Linked DNA regions of Homo sapiens: all the other regions are linked to region 3. The links are contacts of gene promoters, found by promoter capture Hi-C in blood cells and fetal thymus (Javierre and others, 2016). All regions are on one chromosome and are shown on one strand. Each heading gives the region's core, a stretch centred on a gene start or on the middle of the fragment in contact. The rest is flanking DNA. Distances are from core to core; before and after follow the strand shown.

Region 1 (4,156 bases), core at 484-2,983, 910 kb after region 3:
TTCTTAGAAACACTTTTTAAAATCCAAATTTTCAGAAAAATACATGCAAACTTTTCTTTTTATAAACAAATATTAAAGTTGTGGCAGATTTACTTATCAGTCTTCATTTGTTATTTCTTAGTAGCCAGATTTTGCATCCCCACCCTTGCGATAGCTTCATGGTGAACAGAATACCCTTTTCCATTCAATTATTGCAGAGTGTGGCCACAAGACTTGTTTTGGCCCATGGGCTGTTAGTGGGTCTGAAACAAGCAGAGTGTTGAAGAGTAGTTAGTCATATGGCTTGGTTTTCTCTCTTCTATTAATGTCACTGCCAAGAAAAGAACATATTCTGGGTAGCCTATGGATCTCAGACGAATGAGAGGCCCATGGAGCAAACCAAACATATTCCACAGTTTAAATACGAGCCTTCTTGAGCTTATCTGAAGTCAGCTGAGCCTCAGCAGATCTTGAGTCAGATGAATAATAAGTAATTGCTTCCTATTGGACACTACTGAGTTTTAGAGTTGTTTGATATGCATATTATTGTGAGAACAGTTGACTAATATATGCAAGTATATAAATAATTTGTTAGTATTTACTGGTTTTAAAATAATGGATCACAAAATAATTATTTCTTTATTTTTTATTATTAGTCATAACTCCCAGACTGAAGCTTAGGGCTAATGTGAATTATAAGTAAATTTCAAATCAATTCCTTTGGTTCATGTGTCCGTATTTCCTAATTTCTTTTTCTTGTTTTTTTCTCCTGCTGAACAGGACTTTCCCATATCATATTTTTCGTAGAAAAATTCTACAAAGTAATTTTCAATGCACTATCCTTGAATCTGAGAAGTAATATATTTAGCAGAATTCAAAGGAAAAATATTTTACCTTTTTAGACTAGTGACTCATCTGGCAGTTTCTTATTCTACTGCTGATTATTTTTCAAAATACGCTCTTACGAGTTTTAAAATAATTATTTCCAGTTCCATAGTAATCACACTAATTAGAATTTTCCAAGCAGGTATATTCTTAGAATTTATTTTAATGGTAATATAACAATCTGAAACTCATAATGTGCACTATTGCACCTTAAGTATATTTATTTTGAAAATGAACACTTCAGTGCATTATCTGCTGAGAAATAGTATCCTCATGATCTCAAGAACTATTAGCACATACCTAACTTAGTACCATGAAGTGGTTTCAGCACATAGACACGAAATCAAATTCTAAGATATAATAAGAGCAAGACCACAATGTTGAAGTAGTGTTTCACAAAATCAAATTCTAAGATATAATAATAGCGAGATCACAATGTTGAAGTAGTGTTTGCAAGGTAACTTTTTAGATGCCACAATTTGAGACCTAATTATTTTTGAAGACACATACAGATTCTTAATTATAAGCCTCTCATCACATTGAAATTTTATTATTTCTGGTCTTTAGGATTCCTCACTGTCCTCAGTCTCTTCAAACCAATCTGACTGCCATTAATTCATTTATTGTCCTATAATAATCCAGTGTTAATTTATTGGAGTAATAAAGCAACTAAGTTGGACTAGATGAAAACAAGAGATAAAAAACCATGGTAAATTGGGTTATTCTAAACAGAAAACATTGAAACAACATGTGAATGCTTCATTCTCTTATACTTAATTCATTTTACAGTTTGTTCCCTTTGCAGGAACACATACTCCGAGCTATACCTCAATACCTTGATAATGTAAGTCTTCTTTTCTCACAAGAAGTAGCGTAACTATTTTTTTGTGAATCCTTCTCTGACAGCCCTACATAGACATAAAACTTTGCTGCTCTGCTTCCCTTATTGTTAGCTATTTTATTGTTTGGTAACTGTCTTTCCATTAGATGGTGAACTCTTTGAGAACAGAGAGTATGACTCATTCTAATGTAATGTTGTGAACTTTTCTGATGCTCCAAATACATCTGTAGAGTTAAAAGACAATCACAGAGATTGAAAAACAGGAATCTAGTTTATCCCTTCTTTTACACTTAATATTGAGAAAATAAACATCTTAGTTAAAAATCTTTTGTCAAGCATATGTATTGCTAAATATATTTACTCCTAGTTTGATATTAAGTTGACATAAAAATAAAAATATGCCTTTGTTATTTGAGCACACAAATTTCTCACATATACTTAACAATTTTTCGAATTACCTTGAAAACATTACAGGTACGAGATTTTCCCCATGAACTGAGCTATGTAATGCAATCAAAATACTATCTTTGAATGCATGAAAATTATGTTGTCTTTAAAATAATTTCCAAATCCACAATAAGCAGTAGTACCATTTCCTCACTTACCTATCTCTTTATAGACATTTTAAACTACATATCTTGGGAATTTCTTCTTTTCGCTTGATTCTTCATGGTTTTTATGCTTTGCCAAAATCTTGTTACCTTCTACTCCTCTCAGCAGTTTAAATTATTTTGACTGACAGAAATTATTTATTACTCCTTTCTAAGGAAAATTTGAGTGTTATATGCCATTAAAAAGCAGTGAACTAAAGGTGGTAAAAGACAACAAATTTTCTACAACAATCCCTTTCTATGACAGACACCATTCAACTAATCCCACATTAAATAATTTCAGCATGCAACTACAAGAATTAAAAAGGGTAAAAATATATTGCACCAATCTTGTATCTCCACACATGTAACTGGAAATAGACTACTGAGGACATTAGCTGACAGGAGATGGAGTGATAGGATATGCCAAGTGCAAATACTTTCCAAACCTGCAGAACTAAGTTAATAAATGTAATTTAAATTGTATTAGGCAGTTGTAAAAGTTAAAGAAGCTTATTGGTTCTCTGTTCGGACTTTTTAAAAGGAAAACTAATATTTGCAAACTAACTCATGAGAAAGAACTGTCCATCCTCTTATAATCAAAAAGCTGCTAACAGATTTATATAAGGAATCACCGATCTTGCTGAAAAGTGAGCCATTTTACATACAGTGGGAACAGACATTTCAGGAACTTATTACATGCTTCTGAACCACTTTATATCATAGCATACAGAGTATGCTATCATCTCACACTAATCTGTGATATTTGACTTTTCAAATAATTTAATGCATTATATACAAATGATTTGAATTTCAAATGTGAGTACATGATAAAATCCAGGTGTTTAATCTTTTCAGAGAAAAAGAACAAATCAATAGTTCTCTCAGAAACTTAAATGAGAGAAATGAGTGTAACAAAAAGGATTTAAGTCACATGATTTTTGAAAATTGCTGATTTCTTTATCATTGTGTTTGAGAATGACATGAATCCTTTAGCAGCTAAAATTTCAAAGAAATAGTGGTGCTGATTTTATAATTTTGGGATTTATTTTCTTGTTCTATCAAATAATTTTATCATATGAAAAGGAGTGACAGTTACAGATTCTAAAGGCACAAATCAAAAATTTAACATCAGAGAAAAATACAAAGTTATTTTAAACCTGAGCACTCATTAAAAAAACCTTAAATTTAATCTTAGGAGATTTAGTAGCATTACATCATAACAATTTATTAAATAACCTTAGCTACCCAGGTATCTGGGAACTTTTTAAAAAATGGCTCTAACTTTTGATAACCACTTTATCATATTCAACATTGTTGAACTGCAATTTATGAGAAACTATAAGATGCCATTTTGGGTGCTCAGCTTACTGAAAGGACCAAGGTTATATGTGGGGTTTTTTTTTTTCAATATTATATTGAGCTGGTGTCTGCTTAAAGCTTACAAAATACTAGCCTATTAGAAATAGCCTACTAGAAATAAAATCACTCTTTTTTCTTTCTTTCTTTCTTTTCTTTTCTTTTCTTTTTTTTTTTTTTTGATGGAGTCTTGCTCTGTTGCCCAGGCTGGAGTGAACTGGCATGATCTTGGCTCACTGCAACCTCTGCCCCCCAGGTTCAAGTGATTCTCTTGCCTCAGCCTCCCAAGTAGCTAGGATTACAGGTACCAGCCACCACACCCTGCTAATTTTTGTGTTTTTAGTAGAGACAGTGTTTCACCATGTTGGCCAGGCTGGTCTCAAACTCCTGACCTCAGGTGATCCACCTGCCTCAGTCTCCCAGAGGGCTGGGATTACAGGCGTGAGCCACCACACCTGGCCAGAAATAAAATCACTTCTTAAAATAAATTGGTTTACTCTAT
Region 2 (4,467 bases), core at 1,485-3,984, 890 kb after region 3:
CTGAATATGCAAACCAGGGGGAAAAGACAGAGCAGGACATACATTTGAGACTCTTTAGTGTATAGATGGTATTTAAGTCATGTTGCTGGTTGAGATCACTTAGACATTAAAGTTAATTAGAGATCCAGAAGACAAGGTAAATTGAACCAAAAAAAAAAATGAGCAAAATCAGCTTATAAGATAGGAGGAAAACCAGGATCATATCGTGCTCTGGAAACCAAGTACAAAAAATGTTTCTATCATGTACAATGCTCCTGAGATGTCCACTAACAAGAGGATTAAAAATGGCAAAGTGGGGCCAGGTGTGGTGGCTCATGCCTGTAATCTCAGCACTTTGGGAGGCTGACGAAGGCGGATCACGAGGTCAGGAGTTCAAGACCAGCCTGGCCAACATAGTGAAAACCCCTCTCTACTAAAAATACAAATATTAGCAGGGAGTGATGGCGGGTGCCTGTTGCCTGTAGTTCCAACTACTTGGGAGGCTGAGGCAGGAGAATCGCTTGAACCCAGGAGGCGGAGGTTTCAGTGAGCCGAGATCATGCCACTACACTCCAGCCTGGGCAACACAGCGACACTTTGCCAAAAAAAAAGAAAGAAAAAAGAAAGAAGAAGGAAGGAAGGAAGGAAAGAAAGAAAGGGAAAGAAAGAAAGAAGAAAGAAAGAAAGAGAAAGAAAGAAAGAAAAAGAAAGAAAGAAAGGCAAAGTGGATTTAGTAGTATGGAGGTTCTTGGGACCTTGAAAAGACGAATATTAGAGGCAATACTAGATTAAAGTAGGAAGAATAAATAACACAACATTACATAACATCCATGTAAAGCATCTGCCTTTCAAACCAAATTGCAAAAGGACTGCCTCATGCAAAGATTCTATAAATTCAGGATAAAAAGACATTGCAGTGAAATTTCTTTAGACTCAATTTTCTCCAAGGCATCAAAATGGTAGATGCACAGTCCATAGTGAGATGTGAGACTTAAAAGAGAAGGTAGCAGAATATTCGTTTCCATCATTGGCTGACCATCTACCTCTAATATCTAAACAGATCTTGGATAAGCTAAGAAAAAATGATTGGAAATCCAAAGAGGATTTGTGGGTAGAGTATTGGTATTCTATGATTCTTCCTGACAGCAAAAGTCAAGATGCTTTCTTTTTCTTTCTGACAAGAGAAAGGGTTTGGAGGAAGCCGAGCTGGTGAGCTTAATCTATTATCCTTACTACCACCATGTTTGAGTAACTCATGCCTGAGAAACTCAGAAGGCAAGGCCTGGGCTGGCTTTCTGGAGATGATAAGAAAGAGGCTGCTGTTGCCTCAGAACCATCCTACACTCTCAATGGAACAAGGCAAAATTGTGTAATTTTCTCCTCTACTGTACCTGTTGTGGGCCATGTCAAGAGAAAGCCAGCTTGAGCTTGTCTTGGCTCTTGCCTAAGAGGAAGTATCATAATTTGTGGTATAATAACCTGGCCAAAATCTCAGTGGCTTACAACAGCAAATATTTATTATTTTCTTGGGTCAGCTGCACGGTAATTCTGTGGTCAGCTGGCAGCTCATCTAGGCCTGGATTGTCAAGAATAGCTTCATAATCTATAGCTTTATCATTGACTAGATGTTAGCTGGGTGAAGGTGATGCTATGTCTTCATTCTCCAGAAAAGCTCTAGCCTGAGCTTTTCACAGCATAGTGCTGACAGAGACAACTGAAAATTTCAAAGTATATGTTTTCTTCAAGCCATTCAATTGTTTTTAAATTTTTCTTTTATGTAGGTCTTATATGTTAACTGCAAATTTTATTTCTAGGTTATAGTATTGTTACTATTATCAACAACAATAATAATGAACATAAAATTACTTTTTGACATTTATTAGCAATTTATTTTGCAGTGAATGTTCAATAAATAGGCCAGTTAATTTTCAAGGTATTGATTTGGATGTATCTCTCTAAGACCTACTTAGTTATTTTTTATTTATAGTCTGTATTTTTTGTATACTTCCGTGTCTGAGCTTATAGATGTGAGGATTCTACACATCTGAGGATTAATTTTATCCCTACACATGTGAGGATTAATTGTGTCCCTATCTATTTCCACTCATATTTCTTGCAGTTTTCTTTTATTATTTTAATGATCTGTAACTTGATGTATAAATACTATTGACAGGTATGATTTATCTTCATTTGTGATTATAGGATATCTTTCTTTTTCTCATTTCATGATTATTACTTTGAACTCAAGCCTAAATGCCTCTTGTTCCATATTCTTATTTTAATAATAGATTTCTTCAAACTTGATAAAAGTTTTGCAATTCATACTTTTGCCTAATTCAGACAAAAATTAAGCTGTTTATATTCAATTAATGAATTATCTTTATAGCCACCTAATTACTTATAACATTGCAAGAATTAAGCTTCCAAAATTTCAAGGGAACAAATTTCTATTTAATATCTAAAAATATGTTTGAAAATGCGTGTTTTAGTAGCTACCCTCTTCACTAGCCCTAAGAATATTTTCTTCTTTGACTAAAAGTGAATCTCCAAGACAAAAGTAAATGTGGCTGAGGATTTCCTAGAAACTGTATACATTAATTTAAATATTAGTGTATTGACATGTCAGAGAAATTATTTTCCTTGCAGCAAGCACTATACAAAAACTATTAATAAGCTAATAACAACTTAATAGTACCTATTCAGTAATGGAATCATTGTTTGCCAAGACTGTATGCACTTACATTGTGCTAAGCATTTTTACACATTGTCTAATTTAATTTTCACAATAATATAAAGCAAGTATTTTTATTTTTCTTATTTACAGATAAAGGAACTGAGGCTAAGAGAAGTGACCTCTGACACCCAGCTAACTAGTGACAGAGGTGAGATTTGGGCTAGGGGGGTTTGATAGCAAAGGCCATGCATTTGGTCTGTTTTGCTTTTAAACTTAATATACCTTTTTAAGGAAATAACTTGAATGAATCAAGGGATATTAACTTAATTAGGAAGAAATGTATTTACAGAAAAATTGGAACTTTTTTGCTAATTCAGGTGAACAGGTTTTTTGCTAGACTGAATAATGAAGCTTCACTATTCTGAGTGTTTTTCTATTATGACACTACAAATGATTTAATAATTTTTAGAATTTGGATTGTATCCTAATTTTCTAAAAACTGTTTATCTTTTATTAAGATAAAAAATAATCTTAATAATTTGCAAAGCTTTTAATAGAACTAAATTATATGAATTTGAGGCCCCATCTGAAACTCAGCCATGAGATGGCATGCTGAAATCTCCAGGGGAGTGTTAATGCTGGCTTTCACTGGCATCGACAATCCACAGCGAGTGTGCAGGGCAAGGAGAGTTTTTATTTCCAAGTCTAAACCGAATGAAATGCAATTAATTCTGCTGTCTGGGCCGCTGGTGCCCTCTACAGGTCAAATAGATGCTATACAGCTTTAGGTTTCACCTGTTAAAATGTCGTTTTAGCGCTAAAAGAACTCTGGGTCCCATTGCATAGTAGCTTCTTTACAGGGTACTGTCACTCTTATTGGCATAAATAATAGAAATATTGAGTAAAAATCACCTAAATAGCCTCATTCATGTGTCTAGCAGTTGGATAGGTGTTAGCTGGGATGATGGTGATGACGTGTCTCATTCTTCAGCAGCCTAGAGTGGTTATTCATATGGTAGCAGTCACAGGAACAATTGAAAATACCAAAGAGTATGTTTTATTTATGCCTTTCAGTTGCTTATTTAAATTTTTTATATAGTTGTTATATAATTGTAATGCAACACTCATATATCAATGTCTTAAGTTATTCAGTTACATCAAGATGATTATTTCTTTAAAAAAGTATGGGGAGACAGAAGTGGAGATGGCAGTAGTACAAGTTTTATTGTAAAGATCAAATGAAATAAACTATGTAAAGCTTATGGAACATAATAGGTCATCTGAAAGCAATTATTTTTACTTAATCAAATTTTAAAGTTTTATGTGAGAACAAAACAAGCTAGGGTGAGGGTGGAATGGTTGGGGGTGTGAAAAACGTAGGCAACACAGAGGAAGGGCTTACTCAGTCCTCATTTAAAATACCTCATTAAATATATCATGTGTACAAAATAGAAAAAAACACAAAATATAAGCATATTTCAAGTGTAATTAGGGAAAACGCATTTGTGGTCATTATTATGTATTATTTTTCTACATCAGAAATCTAAGTTTTCAGTCTTTGTTTAGAGTAATCCTTTATTGGTTTTTTACATTTTGTAACACAGATTAGTTTGGAGCTCCTAACTTTACCATGGTAAAGAGACAATCTGTAGTTCTGTTTTCTCATCTTTTACATGATAAGTAATAGTGAAGAGTCATAGTGTCCTAACTTCACTTGTTTTTTAAAAAAAATTTTTCTCCCATTTTGTAGGTTGCCTGTTCACTCTGACGGTAGTTTCTTTTGCGTGCAGAAGCTCTTTAGTTTAATTAGATCC
Region 3 (4,583 bases), core at 1,395-3,894:
CCTATCACCCAAGGAATGTACTTTACAGAAGTAATAACTTTCAGTTTCATGTGGAGTTTAAGCAAATACATTCAGGTTTCTATGGAAATAATGTTAAACCTATGTACTCAAATAAAGCTAAAAGTGTTGTGTTTTGTTTTTTTCTGTTTGTTTGTTTCTGAGACAGGGTCTCACTCTGTCACCCAGGCTGGACTGCAATGGCGCAATCTCGGCTCACAGCAGCCTTGACCTCCTGGGCTCAGGTGATCTTTGCACCTCAGCCTCCTGAGTAGCGGGGACTGCAGGCATAGGCCACCAAGCCTGGCTAATTTTTGGTAGATATAGGGTTTTGCCATGTTTCCCAGAGCCTGGCCTAGAACTTCTGGACTCAAGCAATCCACCTGCTTTGGCCTCCCAAAGTATTGGGATTACAGGAGTGAGCCACCGTGTCTGGCCTTAAAAGATTGTTAAATGGAGACCAGGTGGAATTACTATGGCAAAGGGCATGTATTGCCAGCAAAATCTTCCCATGAAGGCTTATCTTACCCTAAATACAAATCAGCTATGAAGAGGAATAATTCTGTATTATGCAAGCAAAATGGTTTAGCAATCATCCTTGTGACATTGTCCAAGATCTATATTACAGAATTACAGATGCTTAGATTTCTTTAGTCTAAGACTGTAATGCACTAAAACTTATGCAACACTTCTATATTTGATTAGATAAGTTTTGCTTTGCACCAGGGGAAATAAATAAATACTTTTTCTAATGAGCTCTGTATACAATGACTATAAAAAAAAAAAAAAGGAGAGCCCTAGAAGATAAATTTTATAACTTTTCTTTTACTTTGAGCAGTTTTTCCTTATAAATGTGTATGATTAATATTTTGGTCATATTATATTATAGGTATGGCTCATAGAGAAGCAATTTAGAAGCAGATTAGGGTTTGAAGTTGGAAGCTTAAACAAATCCATTCTTAATCCTGACAATAAAGTTTACTGTCAAAATTGTTGGTTACAGATACTTAAATTGCTATTTATTTTTTTAAAGAAAATGTTCCAAAACATAAAACAGTAACTAGTTTTGAGACCATTGTCCTCTATAAGGGAAAAGAAAATATTTCAGACACATTTAACAGATGCCAATTTCAGTTTCTCAATTATGTCATCAAGGTATTCTTCAAACCAAATATAAAAATATATATATAATTTCTAATCACTCACTTTTTATACATTTATAAACAGGCAGATACAGATACAGATACAGACACAGGCAGTTATTTGGGTTAAAGAAGCTGGCATTTTCATGGGGTTTAGAAAGGACCGTGTAGTCCATGACATTTACTACCAGGTATCAGAGGAAAAGCATAAGCAGTTCCTTTTCTTGAACATTTGCCTTCTAATTGAATAGGCATTGGAATACACAAAGTAGAGGGTTTTTTTAAAGGATTTGTTCTTTCTTTTATCTACTACAAAATATGAGTATTTCTCAATGATGACAATAATAATTACCATTTATCGAATGTTTATTGTATTCCTGTCTTTGTGCCAACCACCTGACCTCCGTTATCTGAAAAATCTTTCCAACAACCCTATGACATAGATATTGTTATTCTTCATTTACAGGTGAGTAAATGGAGGTTTACATTTGTATGGAACATGTTCTGCTACTTGAGATAATGGGAATAGGAGCCTAGGAGGGCTAAAAGCAAGGAGCCAGCAAGTCTAGACACATTCCAGAGGACATTATGTCAGTCATGCAAGCCCTGCCTCAGCTTTCTTCCCAACCCTCAGCCTTTTTTCCCAACAGTATATAAATAATGTGGTGTTCCTTTCAATACAGGTGTCTCTAATGCTAGTTTGTTCCATTCTTGGTGAAGTTAATTTGAATCACATTTGGTTAGCATGTTTATCAGTTTTTTTCTACTGAGTTTCCTTTTGTGAAGTAAGAACAAATATGTTTATGAATGTAGAGTTAGCTGTGCTAAAATTAAATGAAAAGTCAAGCAAACTACCCAGATAGTTTAAGCCAATCACCCAGGATTTCATGAACCCTTTGAGCCATTTATGTTTCCCTTGAGGGATATTTCACATCTTTTACCTGAGAGTTCTACAGGGCATGCTTTTATTAGTTGAAATGTCACTGAGGGCGAGAGTAATTGTTCAACGGATGTACTTGAACTTGGACATTTAAGAATTAACAGAACGGGCTGGGCGCAGTGGCTCACGCCTGTAATCCCAGCACTTTGGGAGGCCGAGGCGGGAGGATCACGAGGTCAGGAGACCGAGACCTTTCTGGCTAACACGGTGAAATCCTGTCTCTACTAAATCCTGTGTCGGATTAATTCGTTCTACTTGCTATTACCAATAAATAGCATGGGCTCCCAGAGCTATGCCTGGCTAACTCTATCACCTTCAAGGGTTTGCTCAAACTATTCAGCCTACTTTAAGTAAATCAATTTCCAAGGTTACAAAATAAACTTCACGTACATTTTTATGGTTAGGTATTTGCGCGTATTTGGGGGCTCCATAGCTTTCATCCGTTACTCAAAGCGCTTCAGGACGCTAAAAAGGCTCAGAGCTGCTTCGATAAACAAGAAAGAATGCTGCAAGCAAAGGCAGCAGTTTCGCTGTAAAATCCTATTGCTGACAGCCAAGACGGGCGTATTCCCTCGCGACCAGCCTGTGGCGTGGTTGGGGCTCCGGAAGGGCGCGCGCGAGCGCTTTTTTGGGAGGACACCACAGGTGGACGCCTCAGCTGATCGTCCTCCCTCCCGGGGACCCTGCCCCGAGTCGCCGAGTAGCCGCAGAGTCGCCTCCGTCGCCCCGCCGCCCCTGTGTTTCGGACATGGCCGCACGCCTTCTCCGAGGGTCCCTACGCGTCCTGGGCGGCCACCGTGCGCCGCGCCAGCTGCCCGCCGCGCGGTGAGTGCCAGCCGGGACTTCCGCGGCTGCAGGCCGGGAGGCTGTGGGGTGGGGCAGCGAGTCACTCCTGTCGCTGGCTTGAAGCAGGGCGGTGCGCGCGCGGCTGGGAGTGCTCCCCAACTCCGGCGCCGGGCTAGAGCTGGCCTCCTTTCCTGGATCCCGCGGACTGGGTGCAACCAGCATCTGGGCGGAGGAAAAAGGGGTGTCAGCCGTGCCGCCCCGAGAACAGACCGCCGAGCCCACGTCGGGGAAAGCCGAAAGATTTCTCCAGAAGTTCATTCCGGAGCCCCAATCCAACCCGTCTAGTTCAGCGGCCTGCAGTGGGACCCGGGAGCCTGCGTTTTGGGAGGAGGTGGTCACCCCCTGGGCCCGGCTGCAGGAGCGCGGGCTGCGATCTGTGTCCCAGTTCGAGCTGTGAACCCGGCGTTCCCCACGGCTTAGACTCGCCGCGCGGTAGTGAACTTGGGACCCGGACTCAGTGCCCGGGCTGCGGCGCGGACCAGAATTGTCCAGGACAAACTGGGCTAGAAATGACCTGGCGAGGGTTCCATCAAACAAGGAAATTAGCTTTAGATATATCAACAAATCTAACTAAATACAGAGGATTAATGAAGACAGAGTCTAAGTAGTTCAGTGACTACTAAGGTGGTGTTTATAATATGATCAAAAGTTTCAGATACTGTCTGATGCATAAAATCTATTCACTGGGTAAACAAATTGGAAGCATGGAGAATTCATTATTTAATAAGGGTGAAGGAACTGGCAAATTTGCGAATGACAGCATTGGTGTAAGCTACTCTAATTTTATTTGAGAGCTATGAAACAAAATGCCTACTTTTCCTGGGGAGATTTGGGAAGACGTCACTGAGAAGGTGACTTTTCTTTAGGATACATACTTAACTCTTCCTTGGAACATTATAAGACAGTGATCCTCAAACTTTTTTTTTTTTTTTTTTTTTTTTGAGACAGAGTCTCACTCTGTCGCCCAGGCTGGAGTGCAGTGGCGCGATCTTGGCTCACTGCTGCAACCTCCGCCTCCCGTGTTCAAGCAATTCTCCTGCCTCAGCTTTCCTGAGTAGCTGGGACTACAGGCACGCACCACCACACCCGGCTGATCTTTTTAGTAGAGACGGGGGTTTCACCATATTGACCAGGCTGGGCTCAAACTCCTGACCTCGTGATCTGCCCGCCTCGGTCTCCCAAAGTGCTGCCTCAAAACTTTTTGATAACAGGGCTCCCTTATGCTCTTAAACAGGACCTCAAAGGACTTTTGTTTATGTAGGTTATATCTATCCGTCTGTCGTTATCGAAAGGTATCTACATAACTGAGAAACTTTACAGATATTTAGTTTATTTAAAAGTTACAATAAGAAGCTCATTACATGTTAACATAAATAACAGTTTTTATGAAAAATAACTTTTCCTAAACAGAAAAAAAGTGAAAAGAGTGACATTGTTTTACATTTTTACAACTCCCTTAATGTCTGGCATAATAGAAGATAACCAGATAACTATATCTGCTTCTGTTTTATCCATTGGCGTAAGTTAGTTTGATTGAAGCATGGCAAGAAAATCTACCCTCAAATAGAGAACACTGGAAAAAGGGAGACCTGAGAGACCCTCTGAATGGGCTGGGGGGCTACAGTTTTGTTGTAACAGCTTTTTTACCTTTAATGTGC

Evidence for each region. The method cuts DNA at HindIII sites, captures the fragments that hold promoters and counts their contacts. A CHiCAGO score of 5 or more calls a contact.
Region 1: a contact is called between a fragment that was not itself captured here and the fragment with the promoter of ACADL in region 3, in 1 of 17 cell types (fetal thymus). The highest score is 5.9, in fetal thymus.
Region 2: a fragment that was not itself captured here is called in contact with the fragment with the promoter of ACADL in region 3 in 1 of 17 cell types (fetal thymus); the score reaches 5.8 in fetal thymus.

The regions. Positions count from the first base shown.
Region 1 is chr2:209,312,560-209,316,715 of GRCh38, reverse strand. No RefSeq gene overlaps it. Among named protein-coding and RNA genes, the nearest start is that of MAP2, 110 kb to the left of the region's middle. The HindIII fragment of the contact is 2,152 bases long and covers 658-2,809 here.
Region 2 is chr2:209,333,569-209,338,035 of GRCh38, reverse strand. No RefSeq gene overlaps it. Among named protein-coding and RNA genes, the nearest start is that of MAP2, 88 kb to the left of the region's middle. The HindIII fragment of the contact is 665 bases long and covers 2,402-3,066 here.
Region 3 is chr2:210,223,508-210,228,090 of GRCh38, reverse strand. ACADL (acyl-CoA dehydrogenase long chain) reads left to right here and starts at 2,644. Exons shown (of 11, transcript NM_001608.4): 1 at 2,644-2,904. The coding sequence starts at 2,828. The HindIII fragment of the contact is 4,947 bases long and covers 942-4,583 here.